2 separate regions of the Homo sapiens genome follow, and region 2 is linked to region 1. Evidence: promoter capture Hi-C in 16 types of primary human blood cells and fetal thymus (Javierre and others, 2016). All regions are on one chromosome and are shown on one strand. Each heading gives the region's core, a stretch centred on a gene start or on the middle of the fragment in contact. The rest is flanking DNA. Distances are from core to core; before and after follow the strand shown.

The links. Contacts are between HindIII fragments. The CHiCAGO score rates a contact against its expected background, and 5 or more counts as called.
Region 2: a contact is called between a fragment that was not itself captured here and the fragment with the promoter of HIF1A in region 1, in 1 of 17 cell types (monocytes). The highest score is 5.5, in monocytes.

Annotation. Positions count from the first base shown.
Region 1 is chr14:61,693,475-61,697,487 of GRCh38, reverse strand. HIF1A (hypoxia inducible factor 1 subunit alpha) reads right to left here and starts at 1,975. Exons shown (of 15, transcript NM_001530.4): 1 at 1,649-1,975. The coding sequence starts at 1,683. It overlaps HIF1A-AS1 (HIF1A antisense RNA 1), which reads left to right and starts at 1,665. Exons shown (of 2, transcript NR_047116.1): 1 at 1,665-1,781. RefSeq lists silencers at 1,517-1,616, 1,917-2,216 and an enhancer at 2,287-2,656. The HindIII fragment of the contact is 8,611 bases long and covers 1-4,013 here.
Region 2 is chr14:60,984,329-60,988,341 of GRCh38, reverse strand. SLC38A6 (solute carrier family 38 member 6) reads right to left here. Exons shown (of 16, transcript NM_153811.3): 3 at 3,539-3,612. Among named protein-coding and RNA genes, the nearest start is that of SLC38A6, 5.1 kb to the right of the region's middle. The HindIII fragment of the contact is 1,575 bases long and covers 1,529-3,103 here.

The sequences.
Region 1 (4,013 bases), core at 726-3,225:
ACAATGAGTTCGATACTGTATATAAAAAAAGTGGTACATAATTTAATGCATTGTATTAAGTATGATTCAATATATAATAAGGATAGAAAACTGGCACTACACAGAGGTAATCTGCCTTAGGTTTACAATATAGCAGCTTTATCATTTCATCAAAAGCACTGTAATCACCTCCGCAAAATAAACTGCAATTAATTCCTGGTAACTCTTGGAATTAATCTAGACCTGTTTGCTCACTTTTTGAATTTTATAAGTGACCTTCTCTGCTGTATACAAACTAAGAATTTAATATTCTATTGAAGAAGGACCAGGAGAAGGGATCTACAAAACAGCAGGAATATAAACAAGTTTATCTTCTGCTGATACTGATTAGGGAAATTAATCTCTCTGCCAGAAGAGTGGAAGGATTTAACAGCAAAGCCAGTCTACTAACCAAAACTCTTACTCTAAATCTTCAATTCCTTAAGTGATTTCCTTAAAAGTTAAAATGCCAAAGTGGGCAAAATTGTGTGTGTGTTGGGGGATGGGGGAGTCCGCTCTTAACACCACTGGTCCAACTCACAATTCTTAATCTCTAATGTACCCCTTAGACTCAAACTTCAAGGTGATTTATAAAACTTGCATTAAGTTCTAACCGAGTGATTACTTACTTTAGATATATGTTGACGGTTTTCCTTTAATATACTTCAATTTCAGGAAAATGAGACAGAGTTCGAAAATTTTTGCAACATTTTAGTGCCGCATTTCATTCACTCATCATATACTTTTTTCAGTATCATTAAAACTGCCTAAATTTAACCAGCCCCTACATTTTCATTATTTGAAGAATGAATGAGGCATATATTCATTTATAATATCTGCGTTCTCGTGACAGGTGATATGAACTCAAGTATCCAATTCTGAAGTTCTCTTTAAAATGTTGCCATTTCCCTAAATTCCCATTACTCTGACTCTCAGTCTAGGCAAGTTTTTCAAGGCGATTAAAACGAAACAAAACCTGCACGTGCAAACTAAAAAGTTCGCATCTTAAGGCCATCGCGGCAAATCCCTAATGCACAAAGGCAAAGACACCCGCGACGGCTGGACAACTACAGGACAAGATCGCATCCGACCACGCGAGTCCCTCAGTCGGGAACTCAAGGCCCCAAGTCCACTGGAAAGCCAGGACCAGCGTGCAGGGTCCGCCCCAGGGCCGAGTTTTCAATGGAACTGGAGAGGATGGGGGCGGGAAGGAGCGGAAGCTCCGGGTGCAAACCGCGGCTACCGAGCTGCAGCTCATTTCTCTTCCCGGGGTTTTCAGGCTGGGTAAAGTCCCCTCCGGATGGGGCCACAGAGCAGGCTGGGTTTTTGAGGCGGGTAGGTGGGCGGCGCGAGGCCCCCACGGCCGGCGGGGAGGGCAAGCAGGGCTCAGACCCCGGCCCCTGAAAGCACTTTCGAGGCGTCTCCCACCCCCCACGACAAGATGGCGACGTGGACAGCGGGGGAGCCCGGCCGGCGAGGTTGGGGGAAGAGAGGGGAGGGGAGCAGCAGCAGAAACAAAAAGGCTGCCCCCCCCAATCCCATTAACGCCGAGGCCGGCCCAGGAGCCCAGGGCGGGCAGGCGGGCGGGGTCGCCGGGGGAGAAGGCGGCGGGCCGAGGGAATGGGCTTACTTTTTCTTGTCGTTCGCGCCGCCGGCGCCCTCCATGGTGAATCGGTCCCCGCGATGTCTTCACGGCGGGCGGCCCCCAGGCTCGCTCCGGCCTAAGCGCTGGCTCCCTCCACACGCGGAGAAGAGAAGGAAAGGCAAGTCCAGAGGTGGGGGTGCGAGGCGGGAAACCCCTCGTGAGACTAGAGAGAAGCGGGCGGCAATCGCCGGGGTCCGGGCCCGGCTCCGAGCCTCTCCTCAGGTGGCTTGTCAGGGCCCAGCCCGACACACTGGCCGAAGCGACGAAGAGGGTGATCCTCCTGTCCCCTCAGACGAGGCAGCACTGTGCACTGAGGAGCTGAGGCAGCGTCAGGGGGCGGGCAAGGGCGGAGGCGCGCTCGGGCGCGCGGGGAGGGGAGAGGGGGCGGGAGCGCGCCCGCTCGCCTGCCCAGGCCGGCGCGCGCTCCCGCAAGCCCGCCTCACCTGAGGTGGAGGCGGGTTCCTCGAGATCCAATGGCGAGCGACGCAGGCGGCAAGTCCCCACCCCAGCCCACGCCGCTCTCAGCCAATCAGGAGGCGGTCAGCTGAGGCACAGCTGGGACGGGCTGCGACGCTCACGTGCTCGTCTGTGTTTAGCGGCGGAGGAAAGAGAAAGGAGATGGGGGTGCGGCTCAGCCCGAGTCTGGGGACTCTGCGCCTTCTCCGAAGGAAGGCGGTGCCCGGCTTTGGGAGGCGCTGCTGAGAAGGGATTTCGGTTGCCTGGTCCCAAACATGCATCATATTTTCCTACTCTTGGTGCAGTAATGTAATGCTCCTGCTCTCTTTCTCCTCGGCCTCAGTGCTGGGCACGATTGCCGCCCAACTCTGCTGGGCTCTCTGTTCAAAAAAGCAGACTTCGCCTCGTGGCAGCAAGCCCTTCCTTTGGTCTCGTTGCTCAGATGTGTTACAACGGGGTCTTTCCTTACCAGATTACCTAACCATGGGTCAATGTCACCCACCGCACTCTTTGCCACGGAGCACAGGGGAACTCACCTTGTCTACTAAGTTTTTCTGTGGCGGAGTTTACTTACTGAATAAATGCAATTAAAAATAAAAATGAACTCCTGTTGCTGTAAACTTCAAGGGAAATAAAGTTGCAGGGAAATCTTAAAATCTGAAACTATGTTAAGCATTTGCAAATAGGTATAAATGACTTTAATAAGCATATAAACCAATTTCAGGGAAAGAGTAGAAAAAATGGCCTTTGGCAACTTTGCAAGCTACTAAACAAAACATAATCACTTTTGTCTTTGGAGGCATAAACTTCAAGCCTGTCAGTCTTCTAAAAGAAAAATATGTTTTGAGCCCAACAAAGTAGCATTGCACATATATCTCCACTTGGCGCTAAATTATTTTACTTCTCACCTTTGCCTTATGAGTTTCTTGTTAAAACCTAGCTTTGGGTTGTAAATATAAATATCTGTAGTGGCTTTCAATTGTATTAGCATGTAAAAACAATGGTCTATATAGAAGCATCAAACTCTGACAAGACAACAACCAATGTATACAGCACCTCTTTTTAACTGGTCAGTAGACCTACAAAGATACGATTAAACATTGACCTTAGCGGACAGGGTGGTTCCAGCTACTCAGAGGTGTGAGGCTGGAGAAGCCTGGGTGTTCCAGCCTAGGGAACGTAGCGAGACTCCGTCTCTTTAGAAAATTTTTGATCTTCACGCTACTTTTGTTTTTTCAGATCTACAACACTAAATGATATGTATTATGTCTTGAAAAGAACCATGGGAAATGCCTGAAGAGAAGAAAGAACTAAAAATAATTACTCATAATTTCTTTTTTAATTGTGGAAAGAATACTGTAAATTAAAAACTTTTTAGTTTAACATTCTCAAGATACTGTGTTAAGAACACTGGCTCCAGAATCAAGCGTGAGCTTGTACACAGGCTTTGAATCTTACTGGCAAGTCGTTTAATCTCTCCATAACTCAGTTTACTTATTTATAAAATGGATATAAAAGTGTCTATACCACAGTATTATGGATGGTTAAATGAGATAATAAATGTATACTTAGAACAATATCTGGTGCATAGTAAGCACTCAGTAAATGTTAGCTCTTAGTATTGTTGGTGGCGTTATTATTATTATCATTATTATTATTCTGAGGCGGAGTCTCGCTCTGGCCCACAGGCTGGAGCGCAGTGGCGCGATTTCGGCTCACTGCAACTCCGCCTCCCAGGTACAAGTGATTCTCCTGCCTCAGCCTCCCAAGTAGCTGGGATTACAGGCACGCACCACCACACTCGGATAATTTTTCTATTTTTAGTAGAGACGAGGTTTCACCATGTTGGCCAGGCTGCTCTCGAACTCCTGACCTCAGGTGGTCCGCTCGCCTC
Region 2 (4,013 bases), core at 1,067-3,566, 710 kb after region 1:
GAGTCTATAGATGACAATAGTAAGGAGAGCCGTAGATGGTATACATTCATGAGATTAAAAGCTGGGGGGTTCAAGGAGAGGAAGATGGTTGAGAAGCAGAAATGTGGGACAAACAGGACACCTATACCATCTTCAAATTAGTATGAGAGACATAAAGAGAAAAGACTGACCACTTGAGAGAACTACAGGGAAGCCTCAGAGGAGGTTCTCGTAGTGTAAGAAACAGACAGAAATGTTCAGAAGAGAATTAGAGACATGTGAGTTTTGCTGATGATTGACTGTGAGTTCCAGAGAGCACAGTGGAAGGGTTTCAGGAGTTAGAGAGCAGTGGAAGACGAGGTCAGAAACAGATGACAGCCATATGGGATGAGTCTGAGAAATGAAAGATAACCTAATATACTTGAAATGACTAACACAAATTGAGATAGATGGTATAATGTCATAATCCAAATGGTCTCAAGGCAAATAATGGTGACAATCCAGTGAGTAGTAGGGATCAACGACTAGGGAGTTGTGGTTCGGCCAGAGGTATGCAGAGTTCTAGGACTCTCACTCTCTCCAGTTGACAGTGACATGGAAGCCAGTGGAGGGGAGCTGTGGGTTTAGTATCAGAGCATGAGAAGTATTCCAAAAGAATGGCAACGAACCAACTATTTCTGAGATAGTAGTGTGTACAACACCCTGCAATCTTTAGGGATTTTTGCCCCAGTGGGCATTTTTGCCCCAGGGAGCACTCATTTGCCAAGGACTTGACATTTCATATACATTATTTTATTTCACTCTCAGAACAATTCCAAGAAGGAAGTGTTATCATTGCCATTTTACAGATGACAAACGAAGGCTAGAGAGAATAAGGTTCTTTACATTCCACCTCAGCTCCCATGAAAAGTCCTGATAGACCCCAAACGCTCCATAAAATCTAAAGTAGAATTTCATGTGAAGAAATCCTTTACTTTTATAAAGATGAAAATTTCTCTTTACCCTTTACCACCAGCAAATAAATGAAGAAGTTATTTCATAAAAACTCATGATAGCTCTTTCTCTTACCAATGAATTCAATCTGAGCATAATAATCCTTTATGACAGTCCAACAAACTGTTGGGAGAGAGTTAGTTACGTATTATACTCTAGTCTTTATATATGAATGTATGTATTGAAAAAAAAAAAAAAAAGGAAAAGCCTACCTCCACAGAGAATTTTACAAAGATTGAAGGAATTCAATCAACGGAAGACAGGTGAGTCAATGTGCAGGCAGAACCATGAAGTAGTTAGTTCATGGGCCCAAGTAGGCTACAGAAATCAAAGAAAAAGAAAAAAGAAGAGAAACAGATATATTCACTTCATACGCCCCAGAGTTACAGAAAAGAACAAACACAGTGTCAGAATCTTAAAGTTAAATACATGTGAACCGAAGGAGTAAAAAATTAAAATTACTTAGAAATCTCCACACACTGAATACTACTCCCACATAACCGAAATAAAACATTTTACTTAAATTAAAACTAAAATGAAGTTTTAAAATGAAGCTTGAAAGACATAATTGCCACATAGTTGACTAAAGTATTAATCTTTTAACAGAATGAATTGAAAGAATCTACCAAGATGTTAAAGTATCACAATTAAGTAAAATTTTTTTCACATTCAGCAAAATTTCAATACATGCAATTAAAATTCAAGTTTCAGCAGGATTTACAAATATATTTATCTAAAGCTATTATTCCTAAATTCAGGATGCTTTTATGAACAACCTGTTACTTTAGGATTAATATTTGTACTGCTTCCTAGTATTTTCATCTGTCTGCACATTCACCCAAGCCCCTTGAGAGCAAAGGCGTGCACTGGATGGCCAAAGCACTGTTAGAAGTTGTGGCTATAAACTATGAATCCTAAACTAGATTTGCATAAGAATCACTTGGAGGACTTGTTAAAAACATATCTGGCACTGGCTGGCCAAAGCACTGGTACAAGTTAGAGCTATAAACTATGGATCCTAAACTGGTTTTGCCTTGTTAAAAACATATTCTTGAGTCTCACCTCAGATTTTTGAAATTAGAATCCCTGAGGCTTAGAGCTCTCTGTGTATAAAAAGATCTATGAGTATTTCTGATGATGGACAGGTTTTAGGAAAACAAACTAGAGCAGTGGCTTCAGAATTATTCTGAAGAGTCTTAAAATTCTTAAGAAACATCACTGGGCTTCACTCACCTGTTTCAGCACAGAATAGTCTCACTGATATAGTTTGGTTTGTCAGACCCCTCCAAATCTCATGTTGAAATCAGATCCCCAGTGTTGGAGGTAGGGCCAAAGGGGAGGTGTTTGGGCCCTGGGGCCAGATCCCTCATGAATGGCTTGGTGCCTTCCTTGGGGTAATGAGTGAGTTTTCACTTTTATTAGTTTCATGAGAGCTGGTTGTTAAAAAGAACCTGGCATGCCCCTCCTCTCTCGCTTCCTCTCTTGCCATGTGATCTCTGCATATCCTAGCTCCCCTTCACCTTCCACAATGAATGAAAGCAGCCTGAGCCCCTTACTAGATGCAGATGGAGCAGAAAAGCCCCTCATAAGAAGGGCCATGCTTCTTGCAGAGCCTGTAGAACTATGAGCAAAATAAACCTCTTTTATTTATAAATTATGCAGCCTCAGGTATTCTTTTATAGAAACACTAAATGAATTAAGAAATCCATTTTTATCTATTTTGTGTATCTACTTTTCTTCTTAAAATCTGAACATCACAAGGCCAGATAAAGCAAAACGAACTCATCCATATAAGAATTAAACCCATGATTTTGGCATCAAAGCTGACCTAATCCAAAGACAAAAGAGACTAGACAGATAAAAAGACCAGGACTGATGAACATAGAATATTTGTTAATGACAAAAGGAAAATCTTAGAAAAGCACTTCTATAATTCATATACTTTTATTTACTGGATCCTAAAAGAACTTATTCAATACATGACTGAATTGCATAATAAAATTCCAAATGGGAAAAAGTATATACACAAATATATTGAATTAACTGCACATACTTATTTCTCTTAGGAAAAAACTACCCTATTCTAGACTTGCAATTAAAAATACAAAATGTGTCTAAATAAATTAAAGCTTTGTGACCTTACTTCCTACAATCCTAATTCTGCCATCCCTACCTCTGACTAGCAGGCAGATGGGGGCAGGGAAGGCAACAGTAGCTCTGAGAAGGTGTTCTCTCCTTGAGAAAATGATTTCTCCATAAGCATAAGGTTTGGATCCTTTGAACACCTTTTAGACCCTCCCATGATCTACTCTACTCCAGAAAATTAGGTTGTGTTGTGGAGGAAAGCAGGTAAAAATGCTAATTACCTCCTCCCATCCTGTGCTTGGATATTCCCCCACAGTATTGGGTCTGTATATCCTGGTTTTTCAAATTCTCCATTCCGATCACCCTATCTAATAAAAATGTATGCTCACTGGATATTAGATTTGAGACATCCAGTTCTATATGTAGATACAAACTCAAGAGACTCCTTTATTAAATGAAGCAGCATAACATTTTTACTCACCTGTCTGAATACACATACTAAGCAGAAGATGGACTGAGTAAGAAGCCAGGAGAGCAACTGTCAGCAGCAAGAAGCTAAAACATAAAAGAACACCTGGTCAAAACCTCCCAAAAGTTTGTCTTTTGTATGGTGTCTCATTACAAAAACAAATTGCTTAACAGTCAAATATTCACAGGAACTATCTCTGAGTAGCAGAATTATGTTCATTAAGGAAATTAAGAAGATACTTTTCTACTTTTTTGTATTTACCAATTTTATTTAAATGAAAATATACTGATTTTAAAATAAAAAAAAATAAAAACCAAACTTTTTTAAAAATACAAGCAAACTTCCTCATTTTGCAGTCTTGTCTGCTGACTGCTGAATCAGCCATTAAATAATCTTGTAATATTTCCTTTTTATGACTGGTTTTCTTCTTATTTTAAGTCTAAACAGAAGTTTTACTTATGCAATCTCATTGTCTTCTCTTTTTCCC